2 separate regions of the Homo sapiens genome follow, and region 2 is linked to region 1. Evidence: promoter capture Hi-C in 16 types of primary human blood cells and fetal thymus (Javierre and others, 2016). All regions are on one chromosome and are shown on one strand. The core of a region is centred on a gene start or on the middle of the fragment in contact, and the rest is flanking DNA. Distances in the headings are between cores, read along the strand shown.

Evidence for each region. The method cuts DNA at HindIII sites, captures the fragments that hold promoters and counts their contacts. A CHiCAGO score of 5 or more calls a contact.
Region 2: the fragment with the promoter of KDM2A here is called in contact with the fragment with the promoter of PITPNM1 in region 1 in 2 of 17 cell types (neutrophils and activated CD4 T cells); the score reaches 5.8 in neutrophils.

What each region holds. Positions count from the first base shown.
Region 1 is chr11:67,500,460-67,506,867 of GRCh38, reverse strand. It overlaps PITPNM1 (phosphatidylinositol transfer protein membrane associated 1), which reads left to right and starts at 1,505. Exons shown (of 24, transcript NM_004910.3): 1 at 1,505-1,680; 2 at 2,647-2,765; 3 at 4,150-4,364; 4 at 4,455-4,576; 5 at 4,782-5,006. The coding sequence starts at 2,688. It overlaps CDK2AP2 (cyclin dependent kinase 2 associated protein 2), which reads left to right. Exons shown (of 4, transcript NM_005851.5): 4 at 1-371. RefSeq lists silencers at 1,209-1,838, 2,049-2,208, 2,219-2,338, 2,419-2,518 and enhancers at 2,297-3,046, 3,047-3,796. The HindIII fragment of the contact is 23,305 bases long and covers 1-6,408 here.
Region 2 is chr11:67,115,107-67,121,374 of GRCh38, reverse strand. KDM2A (lysine demethylase 2A) reads right to left here and starts at 2,112. Exons shown (of 21, transcript NM_012308.3): 1 at 1,326-2,112; 2 at 17-141. The coding sequence starts at 58. LOC107984341 (a long non-coding RNA gene) reads left to right here and starts at 3,027. Exons shown (of 2, transcript NR_160735.1): 1 at 3,027-4,141. RefSeq lists silencers at 971-1,060, 1,586-1,725, 1,906-1,975, 2,116-2,555, 2,736-3,015 and 2 more and an enhancer at 2,626-2,675. The HindIII fragment of the contact is 9,806 bases long and covers 1-4,441 here.

The DNA.
Region 1 (6,408 bases), core at 256-2,755:
AGTTGCACTAACCATCCTGGGCTTCCTGTCCTGTGTCCCTTGGTGGGTCCCCTCCAGGAACCAAGGAGTGGCCCTCCAGGTGGCAGCACTAAGGACACCCCCCCACAACAAGAGTTAGCAGCGAGGTCCCCATGAGTCCCACCCATGACCTGCCGACAGTGTTGCCCACCGGAACTTTTGTGGCCCCTACCGCTCAGCCCTTCCCAGCACTTCTCCCACTTTGTCCCGAGCCTCCTTCTCCCCCAGCAGGGGCACAGGCCTGGCACCTCCCTGCCTTGTGTCCTGAGCCATAGTGACTCTTTTATCTGTGTGTCTTTTGCTAAATATGCCCTTTTTATATTAATAAAAGATGATTTGGAGTTGTGCTCTCAGCTCTGAGCCTTTCTGGGTCTGGTTCTTCAGCTAAGCCTGGGTGGGCCAGGCAGAGACAGGGGAAGAGGAGACTATGGATGGGGAGGGTGTGATTAAATGAGGTTTGACTTGCCTCTGTAGGCCATCAGCCTTTGGTGGGACCTGGGCCCTCTCCGCCCCAGCCGTGGCGCTGAGAGCCCTGGGCCTTCCTGTGGTGCCACCAGGGGGCAGCACAGGGCCTGGCTGCTTCCACAGCCCTTGGCGCTGTGGGCAGCCTGGGCCTGGAGGGCGCTTCCTCTGGATTGGCGGTGATGCCTGGCAGCATGGAAATGCCAGTTCACGTAAGCCACTCCCTCACACGCCCTAATGCCCTGACAACACCCCAGCCTCTGAATCAGCCCTGAAGGTCTCTGACTTCTCAGAGAGAAAGGGCACTGCTGCTTCCAGCACTTGGCCTCAGTGTCAAGGGGAGGGGCTGGCGGGGTGCTGCCGTCACTGCCCCAGCACCTTGTAGCAGGCTGGGTGGGATCCCATGAACCCAGCCTTGGGGTGCCTCGTGAGGCCTTTGCCCAGACTCCGGGTGGCTGGGTGACCGGACTTGTGGACCCGGAAGGCAGAGGTGGGGGAGGCTTTGTGGCACCATGCAGGGGCTAGCCCAGCCACTCACAGTGACAGCCCGTTTCTGCCTGGGCGTGTAGCTGGGTGACCATAGAGGCCTGGGGCCCTGGAGCCGAGCCCAGCCCTAGGTGGAGGCATGTCAGAGCCACCAGCTTCTGGCTAGACTGGTGGGGAGGCATTTCCTCAACCCTGGGTCCCAAATCTAAGGACTGCAGAGAGTGAGAAGAGGAGAGTGGGCCTGGGACCCCCCATATCAAACCACCCTGTGACTGCACACAGGAGGGCTGGGCTAGGGTGGAGATAGGAACTAAGAGTCTTTGGGGACCCCAATCAGCACAGAGGGACTAGGAAGAGCCAGAATTTAGGCAATGGCCTTTTTCCCACTGCCCGGGGGAAGGAAGGCAGGGGCCTCCCTCCCTGCCTCCTCCGCTGCAGGCGGGGCTGCCCGGACCCCGCCGGGGTGGGGAGGGCCAGCCGGGCCCAGGAAGGGGGCGGGGCGGCCGCAGTGACGCGGCGGGCGTCGGGGAGGGACTGCAGGGGCGCCGGCGGGCGGATCGAGAGGAAGGTCGGGGCCATGGGCCGGCACTGCGCCTCGGGAGGGTCCGGCCACCGCTGGAACCCGAGGCCGGGGCTGGGGGCGCTCCGGGCTCCGACCCACGGGCCGGCCGGCCCTGCCCGGGCTGGGTGAGGGGCGCCCGCCTCAAGCTAGAGGTGAGCCGGGGCGTCGGCAGGCGGGCCAAGAGCGCGGCAGGGGACCGGGACGCCGGCGAGCAGAGGGAAGTGGGGACAACGGGGCCTCTCGCTTGCTCGCGGGGTGCGAGTGGGGGATGGAGGGGTGCCTGCAGCGGAACCTCGGTGCCAGTCTGGGGCGCAGGTGGACGGAGCGGGTCTCCAGGGCCATGGCCCGTGGGATACCAAGTGGAGCCACTCTGGCCTCAGCCTGAGGAGGGCTCACCCCCTGGGAAGAGGACGGAGTGGCTGCCTAGGCGCGTGGAGAGCCGGCGAGGGCCAGGGGTCCAGGAAGGATGCTGGGAGGGGGAGGTCGAGGACCCGGCTGCCCAAGAAGGCAGATCTGGAGGGCGGAGGAGATTACCGGTCCCGGAAGGTAGGTTCGGGTGCAGGGCGTGGGGAACCCTGGCAGAGATGCTGGGCGCACTGGGCCACTCCGCGCAGAGACACTCGGGGAACAAAGCTCTAGGTGGACGTCCGAGAGTGGGGGACTTGGGACCCCGCCGACTCCGGGAAGGGGATGCAAGGGGCGGGTCCCCGAGGGGCCGGTCGCGGAAGGCGGGCCCGGAAGGAGGGGCCCCGGGGCTTCGGGGGCGCGCCCAGAGGGATGCCGTTTCCCGGGGTTAGGACGCGGTCGCAGCGGGAGAGGTGAGGTGGCCCTCCCGCCCGCCGGCCGGAGCCTGGCGCTCCGGGGGGCCCGCGTCAGCGCGCGGTTGCCATGGCGACGGGCGGGCGGGGGGCGGGGGCTGCGCGGAAAAGAGGTCAGCGCTCAGCCTCGCTGCGGCTCCCGGCCCCGGCGGCGCGGGCGGCGGTGCTAGGCTCGCCTCTGCCTCCCTCGTGGCGGGCCCGGACATGGGGTCCCGTGGCCTGAGTCCCTCGGCCGGCGCGCAGGGCTCGGGGCCGCGCGCAGCCTCCCCGCACTGACTGTCGCGCCGTGCCCTGCGCCAGGAGGAGCGGAGGCCGCGCGCGGCCCGCCGAGCGCCTTCAGGATGCTCATCAAGGAATACCACATTCTGCTGCCCATGAGCCTGGACGAGTACCAGGTGGCCCAGCTCTACATGATCCAGGTGAGGGCGGCGGGGAGAGGGCACCCGGGCAAGGGGTGGAGCCCTGCCGACCCCGCCAGCCCTGCCCCGGGGCTGGGACCGGCTGGGAGCCCGGAGGAGGCAAGAGAGGCCCCCCTTCAGATGTGGGAATGGGGAAGGACTGTGGGAAGAGGGGCAGGAGGGCCGAGTGGTGCTTCCCATCCGCTAAGTGCCCAGCCCTCCTCTGATCTCCTGTAATCCTCCTCAGGATCTGTAATCCCATCGGGGAAGGAAAAAGCGCCCAGGAGGCGGCAAGAATGAGGAGGGGGGCCTCCGCGGCAGAGGAAGGCGGGAGGGGGTCTGGAGAAGTGGAGGGTCCTGGCCATCCCTGGAGGTCAGGGAGATGTGGTGAGGACCAGGTGTCAAACCTGGAGCAGGGACAGGGCAGCAAGGATGGGAGGGCGAGGAGGCTCTGGTGTAGGGCAGTGAGAAGAGTGGGCCAGGGCAGGCCCTCAGCAGTGGCCGGGTTGGTGCGGGGCCTGGGGGAGTCTGCTCCAGATCTGTCCCCAGCACAGCAGGACCAGAATCTCATAAAGCAAGAGGGCCCGGACCCCGCCTCGGGCTTGAAAGGGCCATCTGAGCCCCGGAGCAATAGAAGGCAGGATCTGGGGGCTCTCAAGCTCTGAGGGGTGTGGCGGAGCTGGGATTGGGAGGCGGCCAGGGCCTCCCAGAGAGGGAGGGGGCCAGGGTCAGGGCCTCTGAGAGCTGGAGGCCCCTTTTCCTCTCCTAGTCCCTTCTTCCTTGCCAGCCACCCCGGCCTCCTTGCCACCTGCCAGCACATCCAGTATGCTCCCACCTTGGGGCTGCACTGGCTTCCCCCGGCCTTGAGCACCTCCTCCTACCTCACCTCCTTAAAGTCATGTTCAAGCCATGGTCACATTGTGTTATTAGCAAGGCCTTCCCTGACTATCAGATCAAAACTGCAGCCCCCAACCCTCATCACCTATACCCTACTCTAGGCTTTCTTTTCCTATAGCACCTAGCGCCTTCTAACACACCACATAATTTGCTTTTTCCTTTTGTCTGTCTCCTTCCACTAGAATGTAAGTTCCACGAGGGCAGGGATCTTTGTTCTATTCATCAATATATCTCAATTGATATAATCCCAAACACTGCCTGGAGTGGAGCAGACACTCAATGAATACTTGAATGACTCAACTGAGTGCTGGGTTGCAGACCCCATGCGGGGCTGGGCTGCATCTGTGATTCTGATCCCAGGGAGCTTTGGTGGGGCGGGGTCTGGTTTCAGGGAGTTGAAAAGGCTGGGACCAGGGCCCCAGAGCTGTGTAGAACACCAGGCTGAGCTGGGGATCCCAGATGCTAAGCTGGGGCTGAGCTCCCTGTCCTGCTCTCCCTTGGGCCACAGAAAAAGAGCCGGGAGGAGTCTAGTGGTGAGGGCAGCGGCGTGGAGATCCTGGCCAACCGGCCCTACACGGATGGGCCCGGGGGCAGCGGGCAATACACACACAAGGTGTACCACGTGGGCTCCCACATCCCAGGCTGGTTCCGGGCACTGCTGCCCAAGGCTGCCCTGCAGGTAGAAGAGGAATCCTGGAATGCCTACCCCTACACCCGAACCCGGTGAGTGGGTGAGCTGGGCATGGTCCGAGGCCAGGAGGGGAGCGGCCCTGGTGGGTACAGCAGTGAGCCTCACCCGTGCCTTCTGCCCAGGTACACCTGCCCTTTCGTGGAGAAATTCTCCATTGAAATTGAGACCTATTACCTGCCTGATGGGGGGCAGCAGCCAAACGTCTTCAACCTGAGCGGGGCCGAGAGGAGACAGCGCATCCTGGGTGAGGCCTGGAGCTATGGGGGGACCCTGGCGCCCCTCTCAGGCTCCTGGCTGCCTCAGTGGGCAGCCTCTGAGAAGTCCCAGCCCTCTCCAGGCCTCATGTCCTGTCTGCAAAAGGACGGGAACTGTCATCCAGTCCCAAGAGGGTGCCAGGAGCGGGGGCTCAAAGGGGCTGGCGCTGCTCAATGCTTGCCGAACTCCCTCAGACACCATCGACATCGTGCGGGATGCAGTGGCCCCAGGCGAGTACAAAGCAGAAGAGGACCCCCGGCTTTATCACTCGGTCAAGACGGGCCGAGGGCCACTGTCTGATGACTGGGCACGGACGGCGGCACAGACGGGGCCCCTTATGTGTGCCTATAAGCTGTGCAAGGTTGAGTTCCGCTACTGGGGCATGCAAGCCAAGATCGAGCAGTTCATCCATGATGTAGGTGAGCACCCAGCTGCGGGAGGTCCCACTTACCCAGCATGCCCCAGACCCCATGTTTAGGGCCAGGGATGCTCCCATCCACTGGGGACACAGAAGCAGAAAGCCATCGTTTCCATTTGAGGTGGGGAGCACTAGGGCAGAAGCGGCCGCACAGCCTAGCCAGGCATCCACAGAGCAGGAAGCTGGTAACATGATCTACAAGGTCCATACTGGCTCTGACATTCAGAAATGCTGCTGCTTCCATTAAGATTCTAAGATTCTCCATCATCCTATGAGTTAGATGAGACTTAGAGACACTCAGGAAGGTCACCGGCTCTAACTGGCAGCATGCTAAGGAGTGCAGGCTGAGGCTGTGACTCTGATGTCATTCTCTCTGGGATTCCCCACCTCCACTCCCAGTTTCTAGTGTTCCAGCCTTTGGCCCTGGTGTTCAGGAGCCCCAGTCCCACACCTCCCCTCAACCTGACCCCACCACGCCTACAATTCAGCCCTGCCTCAGTGCCCAGGTCATCTGCACACAGAGGGATGGTCCCTAGTTGGAGAGACCAGCGGCCTGGCTTCTGTCCCACTACTGACCCCCACCCCATGGTACCTCCAGCAAGGCACTGGCCATCTCTGCACTTTAAATTTCTCTTCAGTAAATGAGGAAGAGGTTGAGTCAGATATGAAGAGCTAATACTGACAGTGATTGCGACACACAGACCCATGGCTAATTACTTTTTGTGCAAGATCTCCCTTAACACCCACAACACCCCACCAGGTAATGACGATGATTATTCCCATTTTACAGGTGAGGAAATTCAGCTTAGAGAATAATGAGGACGCCTTGTCTTGCATTTGGAAAAATGCCAAAAAGCACAAATAAGAAAAATATAGCCACTACTAAGATTCCAATATATCTCCTCGCAGAAGTTTATAATTATCATTCAACCATCATTACTTTATTTCCTAGACATTTAAGAGTTTCTAACTTTTTCTTCTGCTTAAGATAAAAATATCCCAGAATGGGTATCATCTTTCGCTACAACCTTCATTGAGTGCCAACACTTCCATTAACTGTTAACACCTTCATTAACCATCAACAATTTCATTAACTGTTAAACCCTTAATTAACTGTTAATTCCTCAGAAGTCAGCAGGAAGCCAGCCAAAAGCAAGAACAAGCATTGGTCCCTGCTTCTGGAGTGATGGGGTGGGGACAGTGCTGAGAGTTAGGGTGTGCAGAGAGACAGGAAAGGCAGTGGGCGGGGGGGAGTCAGGCAGGAAGACAAATGCCCCACTTTCCACTCCCATTCCTGGACTGCACTGGCCCTGCCCTACTTTGTGGCTCTGGGTGGGTGGTGTCCCCAGGGGAGCCATTATCCAACCTCAAGGCTGGGCATGTAGCTGCGGTGGCAGGGAAGC
Region 2 (6,268 bases), core at 863-3,362, 390 kb after region 1:
GGGAGAAAATACTAACCAATCTCTGGCTGTAACGAATCCTTTCTTCTTCGGGTTCCATCTCTCACTCTTCTGTTGAAATTACTGTAAAGAAACCACTCCAGGGCTGCCTTCCTCTTCCTCCTTAGGAACCAGATTGCAACACTAAAGAATAATGATATAAGCAGAAATGAGAACTCATTCTCAAACTTGTGCTTTCTGTTCACGGAAAGGAGTATTTAAGGTAAGTGTTAAAGGCTCTCTGAAAAATCAGGTTCCTCTTCATGAGTTTGGGACCTTTCTGCTCTTGGGCAAGTGGTTCCATGTCATGTTCAACATTAATCACATTACAACTGTCGGAGGCCTAGACGAAACGAGATGTTGGTTTCAGTTCCTTGTGGAAGGGCCACACCACCAGTTTCTCCCCACAGGATTACAACTAGCAAGGATCTCCTTCATGGCAGCATCAGCAAGAAAAAAAAAAAGCCCAGGACTTTTATCTCCAGAGAGCTGACCAGGTGAAGCACCACTGAACTAATCCAGATCCTAACCAAATTAGTTCTCTCTCACCGGTAATCAGAAACTAAAGGAAAGAAGGGCAAACTGACTATGTAAAAAGAGGACAAAAAATTAGGATTTAAATGACCCCAAAACAATTTCCCATACCCCTCCTGTAAGGCCGTGCACAATCGTCGCCTTCCTTTCTAGACTCCCCGGATCTTATCATTCCCAAATCTACCCTCCACCCCAACACAAGATGTGCACAACTCTGAAACAAATTTCAGAGGTGCAAATCAAGGACCAAAATTCCATCTGATCTTTTTGGATAAAGTAATAAAATAAACGATTGCATCTAAGGATACAAGGAAAATACATCTTGTCCAAAAATTAAATAAAAGACCGGCCGGCGCGACGGTCAATCCGTAATACCAAGAAAGGGTTTTCTTTTTTCTAAATATTCTCGTGGATAATGGCTTCCATTGAGAACACAGGTTCCCCCCGTTTTTGTCACTACATTACAGCCACGTTAACAGCATCCTTTCAAAACTGCTACGAGACCAGAGGACCCGATGACACAGTTTGCAGAGCAGTTAGAGGCAGAGCCCTCCCGGAGGAAGCCCTGGCCCGAAGTCGGGAGGGAAACCGTGCTTGCACCCCCTGGGCGACGACCGCCTGGGCATGGAGCAGCCAGGGCCGGAGAGGAAAAAGGGCGAATCTCGCTGGGCTCCCCCAGGAAAAGGCGTTTCAATGGTTCACCCATCGGAAAAAGAGATAGAAACTTTGCATTCAGTCTTTGGATAACACAGTCAACCAAACTTCCAAATGAGGGGGGGGAGGGGGAAACTCACCGGAGATTCTGCTCTTGAGTTCTTGTCCAAGTGAGAAGTAAAAGATTCCAAAGCTGAGAGGAATAATTAAATCCCAAACGTCGTCTTCGGTTTTTCCGTGGATCAACCCAGTATCCAGAGAGGGTCAGAGCGACCAGGAAAAGGGAGCAAACAGTTGCTGAATCAAACCTTCTCTTCTGGCTTTGGAGACCGGGAGTCGGAGGCGTCAGGAGAGAGGAGCGCGACCCCTCGGCGCCGAGCCCGGGGCGCCCCCGCCTCCCCCAGGCCAGCGGTCAGCAGCCCGGGCCCGAGCCCCGGGCCGGCCCCGGCCGCAGGGAGCGCCCTCCTCGCCGTGCCCTCGGCCAGCAGGGGCTGGTCGCCTGCGGGAGCAGCGGCCGATCAGCTGAGACCGGCCGGCCCGAGGCTCCCCGCGCCGCCCCGGCCCCCCGGAACGCGGGCCCCGGCCCCGGGGGGCGGACAGGGCGGGAGCGGCGCGGCGCGCCGGGATGGGGGCCCTGGCTCCCCTCGCGTCTCCCCCTCAGGTCTGGCTCCGCGCTGCGGGACGAGCCCCCCGGCTACTCCCCAGTCGCAGAAGAGGGATTCCGGGGGATGGGCCCCCTGGCGTTGCCCCTCCTCCCGGAGCGTCCCCTGCCCAGGAAAGACAGAGCGGCCACGGGCCCAGCCGCTGGGAAGGTGCTCCGAGAGCCGCCGCCGCCGCCGCCGCTGCCGGGGAGGGGTGTTGTTTCCCTCACACAGGAGGAGCCGCTGAAGCAGCCGCCGCCATTTTGAACCCGTCAGACTCTCACATACACACAGCTCCTCCGAGGCGCACTGCGCAGGCGCCACCTCCCCACCCCTCCTCCAGCTCGCCTCTCCACCCCCCCACCCCCTTCAGGCCTCCCTGCGCTTCTTACCGCTCTCCCGGGCGCGCGTGAACGCGCACGCGTCACTCCCCTCTAACGCGGACACACCGCCGGCGCGCGCACGCGCGGATGCGTCGGCCTCGAATCGCCCGCGCCCCGCGACGCCGACGCGGCTCCCTGCGCCCCCTCGCGTCAGGCCGCCCGCCCTCCCTCCCTCCCGCCAGCCCGCCGCCCCCGCTCCCCGTCGGCGTTCTTCCAGGGCTCGGGCCTGGCTGGCTGCTCGCGCCTGCGCGCAGGGCACCGATCCTCCTCCGCGCGCCCTCCCCCCACACACCCTCACACACACTTCGCCTCTGCGACCCCGCCCCTCGCGGCCAGCTGTGCTGGCCGCCCTCCCCCACCCCCCTGGGAGGGTGGTGACCCCCGACCCCCCACAAAGCACATCACCCCCCCCAAGCAGTGGGAGATCTGCGTCCCCTTCCCCTTCAACCGCCTTTGGCCCCAGGCTGCCCGTCACAGTCACACAACCTGAGGGCCGGGAGGCCTGGGCCAGGGCAACCGATACCCGCCTCAAAGCAGGGTCTCCCGGGGTCAAGCCGCCGGGCTGGGCCCGCGGGACCTGGGCTCCCGGCTCAGGCCTGCCCAGGGCGAGAGGGCGCAGGGAAGGGGCGCATGGCCGCCGGCTGCCCTCCCTTCGCGTGCCGGCCGGTGGGCCGAGGCCGGCTTGCCCGCCATTCCCGGGCAGGCCCCGGCGCCGCCGCCACGGGGCCCGTCTGCCCTGGGCCCGGGGGCTCCTCGGTGCAGCGGCCTGGCCCCGCCTCACCCACTGCTCGTCGCTCCGAAGGGGCAGGAAACAGGAGTAGCATGTCTGTCCTGGGCTCGGCTCCCCGGGGGTGCTGCAGGCGCTTAACAAGGGCGTCCACAGGTACCAGGCGCAGAAGCGGTCTCCGCGACGGCCCGGGGGCGGTGGCGGCCGGCGCGCCCACCGCCGGCCGGAGGCGCCCGGCGAGGTGGCCCAGGAAGCCCCCGCTCCTCGGCCACGCTCAGCTTTCCGCCGCGCCGGTGCCCCCGGCGGCCCGGGTGGGACGTGACCCCGCCCCCGGCGAGTCGGGGCGCCCCCCACGGAGGGGTGCGCGGGCCGCCCCCGGCCCCCGGCCCGACCCTGCCGCCCTGGGCCGTGGCGGGCGCGGGAGGCCCGGCCGGGAAGATGTCTCCTGTTGGTGCGCGCAGCTTCGCGCGGGGGTCAGCGACGGGGCAGCAGCCGCCCGAGCTGCGCCGGCCCTGCCCACGGACCGACTCCCGCGGCCCGACAGCTGCCCGACGGGCCAGCAGGCTCCGAACGTCGACGGAGCCCGGCCGGAGGTACCCGAGCAGTGCCATGCGAGCAGCCCAGCCGCGATCCGGGCATTTCCCCAGCCAATCTCTTGCTCTGGGGCCCGTTTAAATTCTAAATCCCACAAAGGACGGTGGCTGGGGCGTTACACATCGGGGTTGGCACTATTGGCTCCACTACGCCCTTGCTGAGCGGTGTCACACAAATCTTTTTCTCCCTGCCTTGGTTTCCCACTCTTTAAGCTCTGACTCCTGGAAGCAGGGAATGGAGCAGAGAGGTAGGGCATGGAGTGAATCATATAACCTGCATAAACAGCCATCAACTCTTTCAGGAGGACGTTAGCGAGACAATTAAAATAATGATACCTTCTAATTCTATCAAGGCTTGAACTCCAAGGTAAAAGCGCTACGTAAATGCAAGGTATTATTATTTATTACCACAGAAGGTTTTTCTGCATGCACAACTTGGGGAGTTTGTACAGACATTCTCTGCTTTGTTTCACAACATCCTTAGGAGACAAGCTAAAGTGCCTGTTAGCGCTATATTCATTTTAAAGATAGACAACTGAAGTATAGAAAGGTTAAAGAGCTTGCATAATTACTCCAACAGCCGACTGAAACATCTCACAAACAGCAAAAAAGGTTTGTTAATAAGATATCATCTTCTTGCGTTCTAGTCACTGGGAAATATTCTTTATTTTGATACCAGTTTTGTTCAGACTTCTTAGATTTTCAGAGCACTGATACGAAGAAGATAATCACAGAAACTGTATCAGATCTAAAGCCTCTTTAAATCTTTCCGACTATGGTAAAGTATATTTTAAAAGCAGCAGTCTCTCACACTGGTGCTACCAGATATGGCCCCATAAGCATCTGGCTCTCTGTAGTTATAGAAAAAGTCAGCAGCTCGTTTTGTTTGTTTTTTAAGCAGGAGAGAAAGCTTTTGCCATTGTCAGATTAAGTGTTGGGCCTTGTTGCTATTTGCAAAATAAACAGCTTTATTTCCTTCCCACTCACCCTTATAACCCAGGGAATACTTGGCGGCAAAGAGAAAGTCTCTAGGAGTAGCTCAACTTGGTCTTGCCCTTTTTCTTAACATTCAGACCCCCTTAAGTAATTAACCCTCAAGGAGGTGAGTTGCACACCCTTGGCAATCAGATACCTCCAAGTTTAATTCAGATGGGCATGCTGGGAGAACCCTAGAAAGGCTTTAGAACAGGCCGGGCGCGGTGGCTCACGCCTGTAATCCCAGCACTTTGGGAGGCCAAGGCAGGTGGATCACCTGAGGTCAGGCGTTCAAGACCAGCCTGGCCAACATGGCAAAACCCTGTCTCTACTAAAAAAAAAATACAAAATTAGCCGGGCGTGGTGGTGCATGCCTATAATCCCAGTTACATGGGAGGCTGAGGCAGGAGAATCACTTGAATGCAAGAGGTGGAGGTTGCAGTGAGCCGAGATGGCGCCATTGCACTCCAGCTTGGGCTACAGAGTGAGACTCCATCTCCCCGCCCCCCCCCCAAAAAAAGGCTCTAGAACAATAATAGTAGTACTTATTTTGAATGGGACTGCCAGTAGAGCAAGATTTGTCAGATTGCAGCCAGCTCTTTTGCCGTAGGAAACCATTTGTTAACTAGTCTGCGTTGGGGGAACGGGACATTTAAACAGATATACACAATGGTTTCTCCACAGGCAGGCTTTGTTAATAATCCAGAGCAGATATATAGGGTGAGATAAGAGGTAGACAGATGGCTAGTGATTCCTCCCGCCATCACAGTGGCTCTGATTGGCAAGGACAGATCTGTGAGGCTGCATTGCCCTAAAACAGCCATTTGCAGGGAGAATAGAGCTTGGGGGATTCCCCAACTATGAACTCTCTGGCTTCAACCCTGACAATGGTATATGGGAAGAAGGAAATAAAAATGCATTCTAGAGGCATTGAGAACAGGGTCCCTGGCTGGAATAAATTGGCATCTTAATAAGATATTAATAAATCACTGCCTTTTTGAGCAAAGCTAAGACTCAACAAATGCTGAGAGTGAAAATCCAGTCACCATTTTCTTTTCTCTTATTTTCTCTTCTTTTCTTTTTTTGGGATGGAGTTTTGCTCTTGTTGCCCAGGCTGGAGTGCAGTGGCTCAATCTTGGCTCACTGCAACCTTCACCTCCTGGGTTCAAGCAATTCTCCCGCCTCAGCCTCCAAGTAGCTGGGATTACAGGCGTCCGCCACCACGCCCGGCCCACCCATTTCTTTTGGGAGACTTTAGGGTGTGAAAAGAGAACTCTTTAGTCTGGTTAAGCTAAACTATTTCCAATTTCTCCTTAAATGTTAAGGAGGAAGTAAAGATGTCCCAAACAGTGTAGGTCTAAACTAAAATAGAGAAGTTGGTTGTGAAGGTTCCCCAGGAGGTAGCATAATCAGTGGCTAAAAAGCTTTGGCCGGGCGCCATGGCTCACGCCTGTAATCCCAGCACTTTGGGAGGCCGAGGCAGGCGGATCATGAGGTCAGGAGTTTGAGACCAGCCTGGCCAACATAGTGAAACCCCGTCTCTACTACAAATACAAAAAATAGCTGAGCATTGTAGTCCCTGCCTGTAATCCCAGCCACTCAGGAGGCTGAGGCAGGAGAACCGTTTGAACCAGGGAGGCGGAGGTTGCAGGGAGCCGAGATCGCGCCACTGCACTCCAGCCTGGGCAACAGAGGGAGACTCCGTCTCAAAAAAAAACAAACAAAAAAAGAGACTGAGGTGGAGGATTGCTGGAGCCCAGGAGT